4 separate regions of the Homo sapiens genome follow, and all the other regions are linked to region 1. The links are contacts of gene promoters, found by promoter capture Hi-C in human tissues and cell types (Jung and others, 2019). All regions are on one chromosome and are shown on one strand. Each heading gives the region's core, a stretch centred on a gene start or on the middle of the fragment in contact. The rest is flanking DNA. Distances are from core to core; before and after follow the strand shown. Region 1 holds the start of FOXA1 (forkhead box A1). Region 2 has its middle 15 kb from the start of LINC00517. Region 3 has its middle 43 kb from the start of LINC00517. Region 4 overlaps MIPOL1 (mirror-image polydactyly 1).

Region 1 (5,166 bases), core at 251-2,750:
TTAATTACTTTAGATTTTATTTTATTGTTACTTAAGGAAACCTAGTGGTTCTACAGGCAGTACAACAAACACATGGTCACAGACACTCAGAAACACACACAGTCACACATGCTCAGAAATATACAAACGGTCACACACTCAAAACACACGCACCATCTCCCAATCTATCACCAACTAATTGCCTATCACCCGGTCACTTCAGTTGTTCTCTCTCCCAGGACAAGTGGGCAACCACCACCCAGGGCCTCATGAGAGTAAAGAGACTTTGCGTTGGGAAGACTCTCCCACCGACGTCCAGGACCGATTAGGAACCAAGCGAGCCCCTGAGATCTCAGCCCGGACCCTCCGGGTCACAGACAGGACCAAGCGCCGCTGCGGGCAGTCTCGGGCTTCTGCCTGGCATCTCTTTCGCAGTGCAGATGCGTTCCCGCGCCCAGGCCCTTGCTCTCCCAGCTAACGCGCGTGTTATGGGAGATGTCCCCTCCCCCTGACCTTTTCCTATCAGAAACCAGACGGTCGTCTCCAGCTCACTCCCTGAAGCGGCTGAAGGGGGGCGGGAGGAGGAGCCCGGCAGGGGGAGGACGGCCCGACTTGGGTCCGCCTGCCCTATCACACAGACATCTGCTCTCAGTTTCTTCCTCTTTGTGGTCGCTACAGATGACAAGGGGAGAGGAGCGGACCGAGGCGGAACAAAAAAAAAAAGTTATGTCATAAAGATATAAACCGGTGCTGTGACTCACCTGCTCTTAGCCGCAGGTACGAGTTTCGTGGCAGCGCCTCCGCTCTGCTAGCCCGGGGCCCGGGTCGGCCTAACGTCACTTGGCTCGGCTGACTCAGATGACCCGGTTTCTAGTGACGAAGCAAAAGTGGGGCTTTTTCCCTTTTCTAGTCTGAAGCTCTCAGGAGGAAAGAAAAAAAAAAGTCTGTATTCTCCAGTCTCCCGGGGTTGAACTTTGGGTCAGGAATCAGGAGGGAGGAAGCAAAGAGCAGGAGGGGCGCGAGACTGGGCCGCAGCCCGCGCTCGGAAGGTGGCGTGTACCTCTGGGGAGGGACCCCGGGGTCAGTTATCCCACAAGGTCTCTAAGCCCAGTCTCCGACGCCACCGCCCCCGGCCTTCTCCGGCTGCGAGGTTCCGATCCAGAGCCCTAGCCCGCCCGCCCGCCTGGCCCCGCCTATTTTTTCTTTTTCCAAAGGGGGTTACACCCCCTCCCTCCCCATTTCCCTCTTTCCCTAGCCTCCGGGCCTAAACCAATTACACTGCTTTGCAAACAAAGTGAGGGCCCCGCTTGGGGGAGGGGTCGCGGGGGAGGGGTCGCGCGCAGCGGTGAAGCGGCGGGGCGGGAGGCGCGGCGGCCGGACTGGCGGGCGGCCGCCTTGCAGGTGCACCTCGGGCTTTGTAGGTGCGAGCGTCTTTGTGCGGCGGACAAATGGGGAGAGGACGAGGAGGTGGGCACTCAAGCGACGTAAGATCCACATCAGCTCAACTGCACTTGCCTCGCAGAGGCAGCCCGCTCACTTCCCGCGGAGGCGCTCCCCGGCGCCGCGCTCCGCGGCAGCCGCCTGCCCCCGGCGCTGCCCCCGCCCGCCGCGCCGCCGCCGCCGCCGCGCACGCCGCGCCCCGCAGCTCTGGGCTTCCTCTTCGCCCGGGTGGCGTTGGGCCCGCGCGGGCGCTCGGGTGACTGCAGCTGCTCAGCTCCCCTCCCCCGCCCCGCGCCGCGCGGCCGCCCGTCGCTTCGCACAGGGCTGGATGGTTGTATTGGGCAGGGTGGCTCCAGGATGTTAGGAACTGTGAAGATGGAAGGGCATGAAACCAGCGACTGGAACAGCTACTACGCAGACACGCAGGAGGTGAGAGGCAAGGCGAGGCGGGCGGCCGGTGGGGCGCCGCTGGAGCCCGTGCCGGGGGAGGCCGGGGAGCGGTGGGCGCCAGGCAAGGCAGGCAGGCGGGCCGGGGGCGCCTTCTCGGTGCCACCGCTGCCCGCCCGCCGGTGTGGCCCCGGCCGGGCCTTGGCCGGGCCTGGAAGCGGGACCTGCTGCCCTGCTCTGTCCCGACTCTCGCAGCCGGAGAGGGAGTTTTAGGAAACTCCGGGCTTTGAAAACAGCGGCTCTAGGAAGCGCTTGCCTCTTCCCAGCAGCGAGCGGGAGCAGGAGCCGGGCCCGGGGTGCAGCGGGCGGGCGAGCGCCGGTGCGAGTTGGAAGCAACTCTGAGAAAGCCGGAGCATACCCACAAGGCGACCTCTTCGTCCCACCGTTTAATTCGCAGACGTCTTCTGATTAAAGCGCTCTGCCGCCAAGTTGGGTGTCTCAATAATGAAACGATTTCTAAATTTTGTAAAACTTGTTCTTCAAAAGCCCTATTTGGGGAGAAGTGTGCTCCTTCTCTAAAACCGCTGGGTGGCGCTAGTGCGACCAAAATCTTCTTCACAACTCTGGGCCGAGAACCTGTTTCTCTTCATTGTCCCCTTGGTGGCACGTTCATGGGGGTTATTTTTACAATGTGCACAAAAGGATTACAGGGAAAACCAGTTACAGGGAGGACTACCACCTATTAAAAGTATTTTTCTGGAAACAGCTGGCGATTACCCTCCAAAAGTTTAATTACCATTATTGAAAACGCGTATTGGAACTGCCTTGGATAATCTTGGGAAGAGGGAAAGAAAATAAAGCCCCAAGGTAAAAAATACTTTTAAGACGTGGACAGAAAAATATAGGATCACGTAATATTTTGATGGTAACTGACTTATTTAGATTTATGTATTCACAAGTTTACCTCTGAGTTTATTTGCATACCATAGTTTACTGGGTGTTCCTATTTAAATCTATTTGTTCTCATATTTTCAAATTGAGTCATACTTGCTGATTAAAATAAACTTAAGGACATCATTATTCCTTATTAAATTACCAGAGGAGTGCTTTTTAATATGCCTAGGTTTTGTATGTTTAAAATACTGTACCTAATGCATTCCCACATCGCTATTGATAAGGATTTTCGCTTGTTGATGATTTTAAAAGGAGCTCAGAGGTCTTCCAGAGATTTAATTCTGACGCAGTCATCTCGACCCCACCATTCAATTAAGACCCCTAGCGAAAGTACTTTCTTACATGTTAAAGCTGAGAATTAGGAAATACAATAGCATTAAGAGAAAATAAGTAGAATTTGATTTTCGAATTTTAAATTATTCAAGACTACTCACGGAATCTCAAAGCCAGGCGTTGAAATCATCGGCAGCAACATCAGCATGTGAAAAAAAAAAAAGATTTATTTTGACAAACTGTGTCACCAAATTTTTCAAACAGGGGACTGTAAAGTGGTGACAAAATTAATGCGAGTTTCTAAATAGCTTGCAAAGGTGTACATGTAAAGTCATGTTAAAATAAAATGCATATAGCACTTTGAGATTATTATAGCACCCCCTCCCAGCCCTTTCTGTTATGGATCTACTTTTAGTTTTATTTTTCCAAAACTTATTTAACTCTGAGTTTGCTTCCCTTTTAACATTACAGTTGCTACAAGCAGGTAGAAAACACTACTTCTAAATACAATAAACAACAAAAAGTCACCATAGGCAAAAACCCCTAGGACAATAAAGCCACTTGTTGGGAAACAGATGATTCAGGGGGTCCCATGTCCATAGGTGATTTGCTCTATCAACGATTTCCCCCCAAAGGGCGCTTTGCCGAGGCTGGTTGGGGTGGAGACTTGGGATACCGCCTGGCGTGGATGGAGGAGGCGATGAGGGGGCCCTGGAAGCCAGCCCCTGAGCCTGGCGTGTAAGGCGATTACACATCTTCCTGGGGTCATATTTTCTGTGAGCGTTTATCTTTCATGCCTGCCGCGCTAGGATTTTCCCCCTGCCGTGCAAGACATCTTTGCTCGGTCTGGGGAGGGCGCTTAGCCATTTGCCCCGGGTGGGGGCGTCCCGTGTTCTGCAAAGTGCTCTGCACTTGCCCCCGGGTTAGGTCCCGGACGGCCGCCCTCCAGTGCCCACCACTAACCCCGCCCTCCGGGGCTTCTTCACTCGCTGTCTCCACTCCAGGCCTACTCCTCCGTCCCGGTCAGCAACATGAACTCAGGCCTGGGCTCCATGAACTCCATGAACACCTACATGACCATGAACACCATGACTACGAGCGGCAACATGACCCCGGCGTCCTTCAACATGTCCTATGCCAACCCGGGCCTAGGGGCCGGCCTGAGTCCCGGCGCAGTAGCCGGCATGCCGGGGGGCTCGGCGGGCGCCATGAACAGCATGACTGCGGCCGGCGTGACGGCCATGGGTACGGCGCTGAGCCCGAGCGGCATGGGCGCCATGGGTGCGCAGCAGGCGGCCTCCATGAATGGCCTGGGCCCCTACGCGGCCGCCATGAACCCGTGCATGAGCCCCATGGCGTACGCGCCGTCCAACCTGGGCCGCAGCCGCGCGGGCGGCGGCGGCGACGCCAAGACGTTCAAGCGCAGCTACCCGCACGCCAAGCCGCCCTACTCGTACATCTCGCTCATCACCATGGCCATCCAGCAGGCGCCCAGCAAGATGCTCACGCTGAGCGAGATCTACCAGTGGATCATGGACCTCTTCCCCTATTACCGGCAGAACCAGCAGCGCTGGCAGAACTCCATCCGCCACTCGCTGTCCTTCAATGACTGCTTCGTCAAGGTGGCACGCTCCCCGGACAAGCCGGGCAAGGGCTCCTACTGGACGCTGCACCCGGACTCCGGCAACATGTTCGAGAACGGCTGCTACTTGCGCCGCCAGAAGCGCTTCAAGTGCGAGAAGCAGCCGGGGGCCGGCGGCGGGGGCGGGAGCGGAAGCGGGGGCAGCGGCGCCAAGGGCGGCCCTGAGAGCCGCAAGGACCCCTCTGGCGCCTCTAACCCCAGCGCCGACTCGCCCCTCCATCGGGGTGTGCACGGGAAGACCGGCCAGCTAGAGGGCGCGCCGGCCCCCGGGCCCGCCGCCAGCCCCCAGACTCTGGACCACAGTGGGGCGACGGCGACAGGGGGCGCCTCGGAGTTGAAGACTCCAGCCTCCTCAACTGCGCCCCCCATAAGCTCCGGGCCCGGGGCGCTGGCCTCTGTGCCCGCCTCTCACCCGGCACACGGCTTGGCACCCCACGAGTCCCAGCTGCACCTGAAAGGGGACCCCCACTACTCCTTCAACCACCCGTTCT
Region 2 (5,199 bases), core at 1,175-3,674, 290 kb before region 1:
CACAGGCCTTTAGCCAAGTCTTTCAGGGCCAAAGCTCCCCATGGACTGTCTCACAAGATCTGCAGGGGAACAAGGTAACACTGACTTTGGTGGCTTAGAGACAGTGCAACACAGCAGCAGACAGACAGCCTGGCACACAGCCAGCTAAGAAAGTGGGACATCTGGGTGTGAGCCAAAATATCTCGCTGACCTTGAGCTGAAGGGATGAGCCTCTGGCAGGCACAATTAAAAAGCTCAGATTCTCTAAGCAGAGAGTGAACATTACATACAACTGCAAGGGAGTGGTCCATGCCACATTCAGCAGCCTAGGACACAGAGCACAAATTAACAAAGTCACCCTTGTTAATTAGGGCATGTGCAGGACAATAAAATTCACCAATTCTCTCACCTTCTCTTGAGATTTGAGCTGTCAGAAATATAGTGCAAGCTAAAAATGTAATTTTAAATTTTGTAGTAGACACATTAAAAACATAAAAAGAAACAAGTAAAATTAATTTTAATAATATACTTTCTTTAACCCAATATATCTAAACTATCATCATTTCAACACTTAGTCAATATATAAAATTATTAACAAGATATATCCATTTTAAGTCTTTGAAATCGACATCTCAATTTGGACTAGCCATATTTCTAGTGCTCAGTAGCCACATGTGTCTGGTGGCTACAATATTGGACAGTGCAGACTTTAAATACTGAAAATACAGAAGTAGTGAATTATCTATAAATAATAGAAAAGGTTCTGACTTTGTAGATTAAGCTATCTAGCTTATATTTTTACTCCTTGGTTACAGTTTTTTTGGCACTAGAGAGGCCATTTAACCTGAGCCTCTCCCCATCAGAAAAAAATGTTGATAAATAATCTCTACCTTTCAAGTTTGTTGGCATGAATGTGTGCAGAGTACCAGCACACTGCCAGGCCCCCAGAGGACACTGAATACATTACAATATACTGATAACATATTCATATAGAAGGGCTCCAGAGCTACCCACAGTGAGAGTAAGAAATCTCTCTGAAGGGAATTAGATCCTCTCATTTTTCCTGGCTTAAAATCACAAAAATAGAAGAGAAAGCGGTAGCTTCATTCTAGCTTTTTTCTAACTTTACAGTATAATATTCCAATAGATTGTATCTCTTTATGTATTGTATCCCTTTTATGAAAATACACAGACTTCCAGTTTCTAATCTGGCATGTAAGCAGCTAACAAGTCTTCACTGCAACCCAAAAAGTGAAGAGCTAAACAAACAGGAACATCAACAACTCTTCTTAGATCTATCAGAGAAGGGAGGTCACAGGGAAAACCACCACCCCAAAAACTGGAGACAGACAGGCAGATACAGAGAATCACAACTTAGCAGAGCAGAAACCTTCACAGCAACCAGTACCTGAAGAAATAAAGGTAAAATAAAAACATTTACTTTTTTTATTCTTAATAGATCTAACAGATAATAACATGTTCAAAATAACAGTAACAATGTATTTGATTATATATGTCTGTGTGTGCGTGCGCGCGCGCGCGTGTGTGTGTAAGTGAATGGCAGTGAAGACACAAGAAACAGGGCTGAGGAAGGAATTAGGAATACTTTGTTATCGTAAGGTACTCACAGTACCCATGAAGTGTTATAGTGTTATCTGAAAGTGAAGTAGAATTAGTTGTAAACATGTATTGCAAACTCTAGAGCACCCACTTTAAAAAAAAAAAAGCTTTTAAAAAATGAGTATAATTGATAAGAAAGGAGAGAAGATTGAATCATATAAAATGCTCCTTTAAAACCACAAAATGCATAAAAGAAGTGGAAAAAATGGGAAGAAAGAATAAGGGCAACAAATAGAAAACAGTAACAAATGTAGCAGGTGTTAATTGAACTATATCAATCATCACCATAAACGTCAGTGGCCTAATGCACAAATTAAAAGATACAGATTGTTGGCCAGGTGCAATGGCTCATGCCAGTAATTCCAGCACTTTGGGAGGCTGTGGTGGGAGAATCACTTGAAACCAGGAGCTCAAGACTAGCCTGGGTAACATACCAAAGCCCTGTCTCTACAAAAAAACTTTAAAAATTGGCTGAGCATAGTAGTACATGCCTGGAGTCCTAGCTACTTGGGAGGTTGAGGCAGGAGGATGGCTTGAGCCCAGGAATTAGAGGTTACAGTGAGCTGTGATTATACTACTGCACTCCAGCCTGAGAGGCAGAAATAGACTCTTAAAAAAAAAGAAAGAAAGAAAGAAAGAAAATTGTCAGAGGAATCAAAAAACAAGGACCAACTATATGAACTATTTGTTGTCCAGCTGAAATCCCCTTTAAATATAAAGACACATATAGATTAAACGAATGGAAAAAGATATACCATGATCTTACTAATCAAAAGAAAAATGTAGTAACGATATTTATTTCAGACAGAGCAGATTTCAGAGCAAACAAGTTATCAGGAATAAAGAAGAACATTATATAATGATTTAAAAAAAGGGTCAATACTCTCAAGAAGACATAACAATCTTTAATGTGTATGCACCCAACAACAAAGCATCAAAATACATGAGGCAAAAACTGACAGAACTGCAAGGATAAATAGATTAATCCACTATTATAGTTGCAGACTTTAATATCCCTCTATCAAAAATGGATAGGTCCAACAGGCAGAAAGCCAGTAAGAACATAGTTGAACTCACTAGCATCATCAATTAACTGGATATAGCAGACATCTATAGACTATTTCATCCAACAGTAGCAGAATATACATTCTTCAAGTTCACGAGAAGCATCCAAAAGATAGATTACATTTGGGGCCATAAAACAAACCTTAGCAAATTTAATATAATAGAATCATATAATACCTCAAACCACAATGGAATTAAACTAGAAATCAATAACAGAAGAATGTCTAGAAAATCTAAAAATACTTGAAGATTAAACAACACACTTCTAAATAATATGGGTCAAAGAAAAAATCTTAATAAAAATTTTAAAATATTTTGGCTGGGCACAGTGGCTCACACCTGTAATCCCAACACTTTGGGAGGCCAAGGCAGGTGGATTACTTGAGGCCAGAAGTTCAAGACCAGCCTGGCGAACATGATGAAACCCTGTCTCTACCAAAAATACAAAAATTAGCCAGGTGTAGTGGTGCGTGCCTGTAGTCCCAGCTACTCAGGAGGCTGAGGCAGGAGAATTGCTTAACCCCAGGAGGTAAAGGTTGCAGTGAGCCAAGATCATGCCACTGCACTCCAGCCTGGACAACAGAGTGAGACTCTGTCAAAAAAAGAAAAAATAAACAAAATATTTTAAGCTAAATAAAATAGAAAATACAATTTAAAAAACTGGGGGGATTCAGTGAAAGCACTGTGTAGAGAGAAATTTGTAGCATTGAATGATTATATTAGCATTGAATGATTACATTAGAAAAGAAGAAATATGTAAAGTCAATGATCTAAGTCTCCACATAAGAAAACTAGAAAAAGAAAAACAAACTAAATCCAAAATAAGCAGAAGAAAATTATTATTATTATTATTACTAGAAATCAATAAAATTGAAAGCAGGAAATCAATAGAAAAATATCAGTAAAACCAAAAGCTGGTTCTTTGAAAAGATCAATAAAAATCAATAAGCCTCTAGCCAGGCTAAGCAAAAAAAAGAAAGAGAGAGAACACACAAATCAATAAATGAAAATGAAATTAGGGACCTCAGTAAATATCCCATGGACATTAAAAGGATAATAAAATAATTACTATGCCCATAAATGTTACAACCTAAATAAAATGGACCAATTTATTGAAAAATGCAATCTGTTAAAATTCACAAAAGAAGAAATAGAGCATCTGAATAAGTCTATATCTATTAAAGAAATTGTATAAATAATTAATAACCTTTCAACACAGAGAGCACCAGGCCCAGGTGGGTTCACTGGTAAATTCTAACAAAAATTTAAGGAAGAAATTACACAAATTCTTTAAAATCTCAAAAAAAAAAAAATCAACATAAAACCGGATATCCAGGAGAGATTTGGGAGTGGGGGAAAAACAAACATAAATACCAGCTCCAACGGAAGAAAAAAAAACTCTTTCAAAAGATAGAAGCAGAGGGACTACCTTCTAACTCATTTGATGGGGCCAGAATTACCCTAACACCAAAACCAAACAAAGACATTACAAGCAAAGAAAACTATAGACCAATATCACTGATGAATATAAAAGCAACAATCCTCAACAAAATATTTGCAAATGAAATCCAATAATGTATAAAAATACTTCTATACCACAACCACATAAGTTTTATCCTAGGTACACAAGATTGGTTCAACATTCAAAAATCATTTAATATAATCTAGCACATCAATAGTCTAAAAAATAAAAATCACATGATCATATTATTAGATACAGAAAAATAATTTGACAAAATCAAACATTCATGATAAAAACTGTCAGCAAACTTGGAATAGAGACGAATTTTCTCAACTTGATTAAGAGCATCTACAAAATGTCTATAGATATCATCACACCTAGTAGTAAGAAATTCAAAGCTTTCCCACTAAGATCAAGAACAAGCAAAAATGTCCCTTCTCACCACTGCTTTTCAACATTGTGTTGAAAGTTCTGGATAATTCAATAAAACGAGAAAAGGAAAAAAATGGTATACAAATTTAGGAAGGAAGAAATAAACTGGCTTTATTTATAGATGATATAATTTTCTATGTAGAAAATCTAATGAATTGACAAAAAATCCTAGAATAAGTGATTATAGCAAAATGGTAGGATACAAGATTAATATACAAAAGTCAATCACTTTCCAATATACCAGCAATAAACGAGTGGAATTTGACATTAAAAATACATTACCATTCACATTAGCACCCCCAAAAATGAAATATTTAGGTATAAATATAACAAAATATATACAAAATCTATGTGAGGAAAACCAAAAAACTCTGATGAAAGATACCCAAGACAAAATTTAAAATAGAGAGATATTTTATCTTCAAGTATAAGAAGACTCCATATTGTCAAAATTTTAGTTCTTCTCAACTTGACCCATAAATTCAACACAATCCCAATCAAAATTTCAGCAAATTATTTTGTGGATATTAACACACTAATTCTAAAGTTTGTATGAAAAGGAGAAAGACCCACAATAACCAACTCAATATTGAAGGAGAACAAAGTAAGAGGATTGACACTGCCCAACATCAGACTTAATA
Region 3 (5,495 bases), core at 2,220-4,719, 260 kb before region 1:
AGGCTTTTGTCTTTTCAAAATTATAGAAAACATCTTTATTTTAGCAAATTATTTTTAAAATATATAAACAAAATTAAGAAAAATAAACATCTTAATTCCACCATTCAGAGATAATGTACTTTTTACTAGAGAAATAACATTTCATTTTATAAATATTCCATAATTCATTAACCTGTATGCTTTTGTACCTTTAGATGGCTTCCAATGTTTCAATTTTAAAAACAGAACTTGATAAGCATGACCATATCTAAATACTTGCTTAAATTTTTAGTTTTCTTAGGACAAATTTATAGAAGTATAATTCTTAGGTCAAACAGGAGGCATATTTTAAAGGTTTTTGATGAATACTGACAAAGCTTGTGAAAATCCTAAGACCAATTTAATATCCTTTCTGCAATGAATGGGAGGTGATTTTCTTGAACACTGGATATTATGATTATGTTTTATTATTTGCTAATTTGCTAGGTGAAAGTTATGGTTTAATTTGTCTTTAATTACTGATTTTAAAAATTTTATAATGCATATTATTCATGTGATTTCTTCCTTTTTCAGTTATAGCCTTCACCAGAAAATTCATATATTTGATATTTGGGCTTTTTCATTCTTGACAACTCTTTATACATATGCTGCAAATGTAAACTTTTTAATATCTGTTTTTACTATTTTTGTAGCATTTTGATACAAAAAAATAAATTTGTACATGGTCAAATCAATCCACCTTTATCTTTTTTAATTTCTGGATTTGGTGTCAAGTTTTTAAAATCTAGCGTGCTCAAGATTATATAAATATTCTCAAAGTTTTTTATACTGTTCTTATGAATTTGGCATGTAAATTTCTTTAATCCAGTTGAAATTTATTTTGTTATATGGTGATAAAGTAATGGTTTTTCCCTATGTGTTTTGCAAATAGCTATCCAGTTGTCCCAACACTACTTAGCAAAAATTCCATCCCTTTTTACTGTTTCCTACATTTAATTGCATGCCAAAATTTATAGATGATATGAATCAGACTGAAGATTTTCTATTTTTTCTGTTAATCAGAATTCCATTCCTCAGCATTAGCAGTACAGTTGATGTCTTTGTGTACACTTCCCAAATCACTTCCCCCAGTAAAAAAGAGCTTCTTACTATCCTGTCACTGTCCTTGACATTTATCTTTCTCGAGTTTATTTATACCCTGACTACACACATATTTCTAAACAATATATACACTTGTTTAGCATTTTTAAAAAACTTCTTATAAGTAAATGAAAATATCCTGTTTCCTATTTTTTGTTGCTGTTCAATGTTTGTGCAATTTATATATGTAGCTCCAGTTCCTTCATTTTCACTGCTTTATAATATTCCATTGTATGAATGAAATGTATTGTTTAAATTATTTGCCCATAGCCTTGTATAAAAGGTTTTATGTAGTTTCTTTTGCTGTAAAACATTCTTGTTCCTATCTCCATAAACATGTGGAAAGATCTCTTGAGTAACTCGCTGGGCTGTCGGATGTATACATCTTCAACTTCATAGTAGGTATTGCCCAGTTGTTCTCCAAAGTGCTTGTACATTTACCTTCCTATAAGCAGGGTTTCTATCACTCCACGGCCTCATTAGTTTTTAGTGTTTTCAAGCTTTTAAGCATTTTTCAATCTGATCAATTTATTCGTCTAGGCAGACTTTTGAATTCTGTTGTCAAGTTCTAAAAAATGTAACTCATTAAGATTTTTAATAGAATTTTAAACTCCATATATTAATGTGGAATAATTAGCACCTATATATTAATCATATAATAATTAGCACTGTTCCCACCTCAGAACATGATCTTTCTAATTTTTTTGCCCCTTCATAGTTTTACACTCTTTCATAGTTGTGAACATTTAATTCATACATGTTGCATATTTTGTTGCTATTGTGAATGAACTCTTTTTTCAAAAGGGTGATTTGTAAAGCCAAAAAATTTACTCTATTCTTTTGTTGACTTTGAATTTAAGTAGATTAGTGCCCCCAAAAGATGGAAAATATGTTAAGAACAAATAGCTGAGCACATCCATAGCATTATCTAAAATGTCAAATAAAAGGTCAGCACTGAAATTAAATTTCAGCACCATTATGAACACTGCTGGTCCCTTCATTTGATCTGCCCCACTCTCCCAAAGTCCTATTTTTTTAAAGTCGCTTTTCAACAGCACCTCCTAATAGGCAGGTAACCACAAGGTGATCTAGAATTCATCACAAAGCAGTGGACAAAGGGTGGGCAACTGGGACCCTCCTCCCAGGGCCCTTTGCACCACCTTGCAACACCTTACTGAGCTTACCTAGCAGTTGTAAGGGCAGTGCTTAATTCTCAGCTTTAACCATGAGCTCAAAACTCAAGGACACAGAGAACGAGAGGAAGAATGGGAGTTCCCACCTCCCCTCTCTTTCTGTCTGCCAGCCACCTCTTCTTCATCAATAGGAGTTATCAAACACCTGTGATGAGCTGAGGACTGAGTCCAATGCTATTAGGGTAAGGGAGGGACATGAAAAGAGCCTAAGACATAGTTCCTGCCCTCAAGGAACATACAATCTAGATGGAAAGATGACTCAGAAGCATGCGCAATTATGGAACAATTCAGAGCCTCGAGTAGTCTTATTTTTTTTCTATGCTACTCTCAGCTACATCCAAATTAGGTAGGTAGACAAATAGGTAGGTAGGTAGACAGACAGACAGACTAGATAGATGGACAGACTAGATAGATAGATACGTACATACATAAGATAGATAGATAGATAGATAGATAGATAGATAGATAGATAGATAGATAGATAGATAGAGACAGATTTAAAATATTTGGGACATTTTAGTTTCTTTGTCACTCTTTGAACTGGAACTATAAAAAATACTCTTTTACTATCACAAGAGGATAGAGGACCTAATATAATGCTACTGCTGTGTCTCAACAGTGACAGCCAGGTACAAAGGTTACCATTACTTCCCTTTGGGCTCTGAGTGTGTCTTGCCTGCAGCCACCACTCACCGTCCCTCACTTCTAACTGGGTTCCCTGGCTGTGGGCACTTCTGGACTACAGCTTATTCCTCCCCAACAATGTTGAGTCCCCAGCTCTATTTAAGCAATCTCTAGTGTGAAAGAGTAAACTGCTTCTCAGAACTTTGAAAGGAGTAGGAAAAAAAAAGTCCAGAACCCTGTGTACCTGGGATTAATTTTATCTCTGTTTTCAAAAAAATAAAAATAGTTCCTCCCTCCAACCCACTGCTTTAGAATGTGACTTGGAGTAACATCTAGTGAGAGAGAGATTAGTCTGTTCATTTGTCCTGCATTATGGTACACATCATTAAAGGTCTAAATACAAAAGATATATGTACACAATCTTGAAGATTAAAAGTAAATTGCAAGCTATTTTGATTCTTCAGAGGGAATTAATAGTATCATATTGCTTAATCTTTTGTAGAGGGTTTAAAGAGTAGTTTCATAAATATGATCTCCTTTAATTCCCACAACAACTCAGTCAGGTAGGCAGGTAATATTATTCCCATCAAACCCATAGACCTTAAGGCTAGAAGGGACTTGAAGGCCTATGCTGCAGATAAGAAAATAGGTTCAGAGCAGTTAACTGAAGTCACATAGCTAGTAGAGACATGACTACGAAGCCTCATTCTGACACCCAGACCTTTCTGTTGCCTTTCTACCATACCAGGTTGCCTCATTGATCCCAAGCAGGGGAAGCTGAAAGTGGCCATTTTGTATGTAGTGAGCACATGGGAGGAAGGAAGGGAGGCAGGGAAGAAGGGAGGAGAGGAGGAAGGGAGGAAGGAAAGGAGGGAGGGAGGAAGAGAGTAAGGGAAAAAGGGAGGAAGGGAGGGAGGAAGGAGGCGGAGGGAGGATAAGAGGGAGGGGAGAGGTGCTCAAGGGTTTCAATTGTAGCCTGTCTGTTTTGTGACAACATCAGCTGAGACCTTCACATTCAAGGTTATAGTACTGTGAGGTATAGACCCCTTTAAATCTTCTGTGTTCATGTGCCAGTGTTACAGCTGACAGAGAAGGGAACTAGCCACTTGTTAAGCCTGCCCAACCCCAAATGAAAATTGGTTCCCAGTCAATACACCCCATCTGATTTTGTCAGGGGATGCCTAGGTCTGGAATTCCAGAACCTCTGAGAAGAAAGGTCATTTCTCAGGCTGACTGTGATGCTTAGAGCCCAAACTTAACTAAAGATCTTCAAACCGTATTAGAACAAATTATACGGAGAATGGAACCAAATTTTACCATTTTCCCCCAGAATCAAAGCCATGGAATATTTTCAGGACAAGGATAACTTTTAAGCCCCAGCCTCCTCAGATCAATCTTTGTGTGAGCCCATCAGATGTACTGACAAGACTAGAGACAAGGTGAAAGCCACACTAGGAAGGGAGTAAAGGACCATTTATTTTATCAGGAGACCTCTGTGTCTACCTTCATACAAGACAACTGACATGAGAGACACAAAGGTAAGACAGATTGACCAAGGATTCTACCCCAACCTCCTTCCCCAGGTGCAAGAGTGTGTGGCCGCCGCTTAGTTAAGGTGCAATACTATGCAACAGTGTGTGGCCGCCTAGTTAAGCTCTTTACTTGGCAAGCCACCAGCCACTTGGGACAGACAACTGGGTCACCATGGCCCCCTGACATCAACACTGTTCAGACACCAGAGAGAATAAAACAGGAATTTAATCCAAAGATTGGTTTTGGAGAACCACGCTCAGACTGGAAGGCTGAGCCCTGAAAAAGATCTGTCTCACCAGCTGGCCAAAATAAATACAGGCAAAAATAAAAGAAAAGGAGAGAAAAGCAGATTATGAATAGTTTTTCCAGACATGCAATTCTAAACCTAAGTCCAGATACGTACTTTACAAAAAAAAAAAAAAAAAGAAGTGCCTTAGTCTTTTGAACTATTTCATCTCTGGAAACAGCCTTATTTTACTGCTAATTTGCTTCGATTCAGAAAACTGACATATAGGGAGATCAAGGAACTTATATACTTATATGCATTTATGTAGAAGTTTATTATTCTAAACATTAAAGCACAATAATACAAGACTAAAAGGCATGTTAGTTATTACTGATATAAAACATACATAACTACCTTCCATATCCTGGCTGTTAGCATTGACTTTTTGTTGCGATTTGCTGAAACCCATGTCTGCATTTTAAAACCTTTCTTTTTTAAAGGATCAAAATTTTTCCCCAAATACAAATTTCAACAGACACACATCAAATGCCTACTATGAGCTGGCCGCTCCATTATTGATTTAGAAATTATTGGGATTTTGTTGAGGAAAGAAAGAAGAAAAAGAAAGTGAAATTCCCCAAGGGGAAATAAAGCTTATAAGAAACTTGACTGTTTACAATGCTAATCTTCATATAACTTAGAAAAGTACATATCAAATTTGAAAAGGATTTTATGTTCCCATTAAGAAGAGATGTGTATTGTTTTGTATCTGTTTATAATGAACATGGTCATTTTATTGT
Region 4 (4,936 bases), core at 315-2,814, 270 kb after region 1:
CAAATTTTCCATATGTTTAAAATTTCTCATAATAAGATGTTGGGGTCAAGTCTGAACTTGGAAAAGGATGGAAAAGGATATAACATTCAGATATATAAGTAGACATTAAGGCAAAAAGTATTACCAGAAATAAAAGTGGGCATTTCATAATGATAAAAGTCTATTCTATAGGAAGATACAGTAATCGTAAAGACCTTAGTACATAATAAAATGGCTTCAAAATAAATAAAATGAAAATTCACAGAATTAAAAGGAGAAAAATTAATCATAATCATTGAATACTTTAAACATCTCTCTTGATAACTGACACAACATACGAACAATACATCTATGCACAACAACTGGACAACACGATTAACCTATTTGGTCTAAATAACATACGGAGACAATACTACACTCAACAACTACAGAATATACAAACTTCATGAATTGTCTAAGAAACAGGGCCTATTTAGGGTCACAGGGCAAGTATCAAAAAATTTCTAAGGATTGAAATAGTATAGCTTATATTTTCTCACCACCAGGGAATTAAATTCCAACTCAGTGACAGAAAGATAGCTTCAGAATTTCCTAATGTTTTAATATTAAGCAACATATTTTTAAATAATTCATGGGTCAAAGAAGAAAACAAAATTAGAAACTAAAAAATATTTCAACATATATAATAATGAGACACATATATAATAATGAGAAATGGCATATCAAAAATTTATGGGATGCAAAGCAGTATATAAAGAAAAAAGTAATCATTTTCATGAAAAGATCAATCATTTGGAAGACTCAATATTGCTAAGATGCCAATCTTGCTTTAACTATTCTTTAGAGGCCATGCAATCCCCATTAAATACTACCAGCTTGAAGAATAACAAGCTGAATGAAGAACTGAGAATAGCTGCAGAAATACTGAAGAACATTTGACAGCTGGATCCTTACACTATCACAAATTAAGACTTACTATAATGCTACAGAAATTAAGACCATGGAGTATTATTGCAGGGATAAAAACCTACAACAATGGAACAGAACAGAGTCCAGAAACAGATCCACACAATAACCTAAGTCATTACATGGGCTCTACTGCAATTCGTTGTTGGGAGGATGGGGAGACACAATTCATTAATTGCATGATGCTGAGACAAGTTGACTAGGCATCTATATGAAGAAAATAAATGACTTTGACAATATAAAAAGTATTTTGAAACTGATCAGGACCTAAATGTGAAAGCTAAAATAATCAAGCTTCTAGAAGAAAGCACAGTAGAACATGTTCAGTGCTATGGGAATGGCAAGGGTTTCTGAAACAGGATACAAAATGCATTAACCATAAGGAGAAAAAAATGATAAATTAGACTACATTAAAATTAAGAATTATTGCCATCAAAAGACAGCATTAAGAGAATAAAAATGCAAGCCACAGACTGTATAAATATATATAAATTACATAAATCAATAAGAAAAACAACAAAATTTAATAATGGACAATAGCCTCGAAGAGATATTTCACAAAAGAAGATATCAAAATGGTCAAAAAACATATAAAAAGCTACCAACATCATTAGTCATTAGGGAAACACAAAATACAAATAAATCAACAATGAAATATGACTATACACCCATCAGAATGATTGATATTAAAATCAGTAATGATACCAAGTATTAACTCTCACAGCTGGAACAACTCACTTACATTGCTGCTGTAAACTGGCACAACTTTGGAAAAACATTTGGCATTACCTAATAAAGCTAAACCTATGACTCAACTATTCTTTTCTTTTGTATGTGCCTGTATATGTATCAAAATAAATAAATGCTAAGGCCCGCCAAAAGATATGTTCAAGAATCTCTATAATACTTCATGCATAATAGGTTAAAAATGAAAACAATCTAAATTTCTGTCATCTGTTTAACATGTTTAATATGCAAATAAATCATGGCATATTCACACAAGGGAACATCACACCACAATGAAAAAGACACATTATTAATAATTATTAACAATACAGATCAACATACAGTAGTTAACACTGGGTGACAGAAATTAGACACAAGGAGTATATAACATATGACTCCTTTTATATGAAGTTTTAAAACATGCAAAATGACCCATGGAGACAGAAATAAGAGGAGTGATTATCTTTGGTGAGAAATTCCGACTGGGAAGAGACAAGAAAGAGCCTCCTGGAGTACTAGCAGTGTTCCATATCTTGATCAGGATGCTGCTTTCAAGGGAACACACATATATAAAAATTCATCAAATCCTTCACTTGAGATTACTTCCCTTCAAGTTATACCCTCATTTACAAAAATAGAAGCTTCCATAGCTTTCAAATCTATTCCTCTCCTTGTTTTTCTTGTTTAGAACCTCATCACCTCTTGCCTCAATTATAATAGGTTCCCATAATCATTGGTCTCCTCAGACTTATGTTCATATTACTCAAGGCACTTGATAAAGTCTTGCCCAGAAATCTTCCTCAAGAGTAGCACTTTCTGCATTATCAGAAAACTCAAAAACTGCAAGTTTCACATTGCCTAGAGAATTAAGTCTACATTTCTTAGCATTTTATCTGCTTAAAGTCCCCAAATGAAATTTCAAATAACATTTCTAGGTACAACTTTTCTAAGAAGGCTATTTAGAAATATATATTTATTTTTAAATGTTTGTATTCTTTGGTCTGTCCTTTTCATTCCTGGGAATTTTCCTTGAAGAAAGAAACATGGATGTACATAAAAATTTAGTTACAAAAATGTTCCCATTCTCAAAACTCTCAATGGCAGGTGAGTTAAACAAATCTTAACATGTCCACATTATCAAAGCATGAGACCAGGTGCAGTGACTCATGCCTGTAATCTCAGCACTTTGGAAGGCAGAAGCAGGTAGATCGCTTGAGCCCAGGAGTTCAAGACCAGCCTGGGCAACATGGTGAAACCCCGTCTCTACAAAAAATACAAAAAAATCAGACTAGCATGGTAGTGTGTGCCTGTTGTCCCAGCTCCCTGGAGGCTGAGGTTGGAGGATCACCTGAGCCTGGGACGTCAAGGCTGCAGTGAGCTGAACCACGGCCATGATCACACCACTGTATTCCAGCCTGGGTAACAGAATGAGACTCTGTCTTAACTAACTAACTAACTAACTAAATAAATAAATAAATAAATAAATAAATAAATAAAATGAAGTAAAATTATGAGAATGTCTAACAAAATGTCAAATCAATGTGAAAAATCAGGCTACAAAGTAGTATATACAATACAATATGTATTGAAAAAAGACAATCTACATATAACTTTCTAGGAAGTGAGCTTGGGGGCAATTTTTTCCTTCTTTTTGCTTATCTGTACTTTCTAAAGTTATATATACTTTCAAGAAGTTGTAAAAATTTCACAGTAAGAAAAAAGTAATTACAACAGATGAACTATCAACAATATATTTTAGCAAGACTGACTGAAAAACATGCATAAGCAAATAATTGTATGATAGGAAAGCAAATTAACAAACTGACAAGGGAAAAAATTAATGAAAATCTTACAGCCACTGTAATTAAGAATATCAAATATGTTCCCTACTTTTCCTGAAAAACATAACTCTAAATGTTATGCTTTATTTTCCTTTCGAGTATAACCTTTTTGTCAAATTTCTAATATTTTAAACATCATTATTTTGTATCTATTACATGCTAGACACTATGCTAATTATAAGAAGCACAAAGTAAAGGCAACACTAAAAAAGGAGAGGTTAAGACACTAGGATATTTGATTATTTCCTCTGCTAAAGTGAAAAGATAACCTTGAAGGTTACATCATTGACCAGGATTCTAGGTATGCTCATCAAGTGGGTTTGTTAGCTTATGCTGCACTCCCTAATCTCAATCTGCTTTATCACAGTGACTGCTGGTCATGCAGACGCCAAATGAGGAATTCATAACCAGGCTAGGAAAGTTCTAGCACCCATTTCTGAATCTTGAAATATGTGTCATTATATTATCTTCTCAGACCTTAATTTCTATACTTGTTACAACAAGGAGGAAATTGTTTGCAAGTTTTAAATTATTCATACTTTTCCTTAGATATGCTTCCTCTTTTTAACCACTTCTGAATCTGGCTTACTGACTGTGTGATAAAATATGTATCATTTAGGGATTTTTTCCTATACAACCACATAAAAATTACACAGAAAAATATCTGGAAATCACTAACCTTAATAATTGCTATATTCGAAATCTTTATTTCTAGTGCCTTTTTCTCTTGACTGCAAATCACTATAGCACAATTACTTGACAAACCAAGAATTCTAATACATGGACTTACCAGTTTTTTACTATCCGGGACCTTGCCTTCTGTGATACCACACTCTCCTCAGTTTCTTTCTATGTGCCTCATCACTCCTCTTCCTCTTTACATAAGGGAGAGTCCACAGTGAGGGAGAGTCTGGAATTCATTGCTGTAATAACTCTCTGGTCCCTCACCCATTAAAATCTCAGTCTTAGTTAAAATCAAATATCTACTACACCACACTACTCACACCACACTCGAGATTGGAATACTGCTAAAGGAAATCACACAACTTCCCTGACACGTTTTTAAAAATTTAACTACCCTAATTCTTAAATGTGCATTCAGCTCTGCCTGGCAATCCTACATTTCTCTAGTTATGTTCATTTATATAGAAACAAAGACAATGATTTCAAACTGTCTCCACATTTTAAATCTTCAGCACCATCCACTAATCCACTGAAAATCTAAATTAATCTAACATTTTAATAATGACACTGCACCCCCAACTTCCCTTTACTAAATTTATCAACTTGCCAGCATCTGTATCTATCCAAATGCTTTGCATACATCTGTTAAAATGAAAGTAGTTTCCCTGTTCCTAACAAAAGCCAATTCTTATACTTATGTTCTAGAACCTATTTCCTATCAATTTACTCATCTACTCCAG

The links. The method cuts DNA at HindIII sites, captures the fragments that hold promoters and counts their contacts. A contact is called where the count stands out against the background at its distance.
Region 2: a fragment that was not itself captured here is called in contact with the fragment with the promoter of FOXA1 in region 1 in 1 of the 25 tissues and cell types used here (mesendoderm cells).
Region 3: a fragment that was not itself captured here is called in contact with the fragment with the promoter of FOXA1 in region 1 in 2 of the 25 tissues and cell types used here (H1 embryonic stem cells and mesendoderm cells).
Region 4: a contact is called between a fragment that was not itself captured here and the fragment with the promoter of FOXA1 in region 1, in 1 of the 25 tissues and cell types used here (H1 embryonic stem cells).

The regions. Positions count from the first base shown.
Region 1 is chr14:37,591,583-37,596,748 of GRCh38, reverse strand. It overlaps FOXA1 (forkhead box A1), which reads left to right and starts at 1,500. Exons shown (of 2, transcript NM_004496.5): 1 at 1,500-1,848; 2 at 4,038-5,166. The coding sequence starts at 1,777. It overlaps TTC6 (tetratricopeptide repeat domain 6), which reads right to left and starts at 1,120. Exons shown (of 33, transcript NM_001310135.5): 1 at 741-1,120. RefSeq lists enhancers at 1-1,191, 705-1,564, 4,997-5,166. The HindIII fragment of the contact is 7,361 bases long and covers 1-2,845 here.
Region 2 is chr14:37,884,167-37,889,365 of GRCh38, reverse strand. No RefSeq gene overlaps it. Among named protein-coding and RNA genes, the nearest start is that of LINC00517, 15 kb to the left of the region's middle. The HindIII fragment of the contact is 7,378 bases long and covers 1-5,199 here.
Region 3 is chr14:37,856,393-37,861,887 of GRCh38, reverse strand. No RefSeq gene overlaps it. Among named protein-coding and RNA genes, the nearest start is that of LINC00517, 43 kb to the left of the region's middle. The HindIII fragment of the contact is 4,961 bases long and covers 989-5,495 here.
Region 4 is chr14:37,317,024-37,321,959 of GRCh38, reverse strand. The region is part of intron 9 of MIPOL1 (mirror-image polydactyly 1); the gene reads right to left. Among named protein-coding and RNA genes, the nearest start is that of MIPOL1, 120 kb to the right of the region's middle. The HindIII fragment of the contact is 5,880 bases long and covers 1-4,504 here.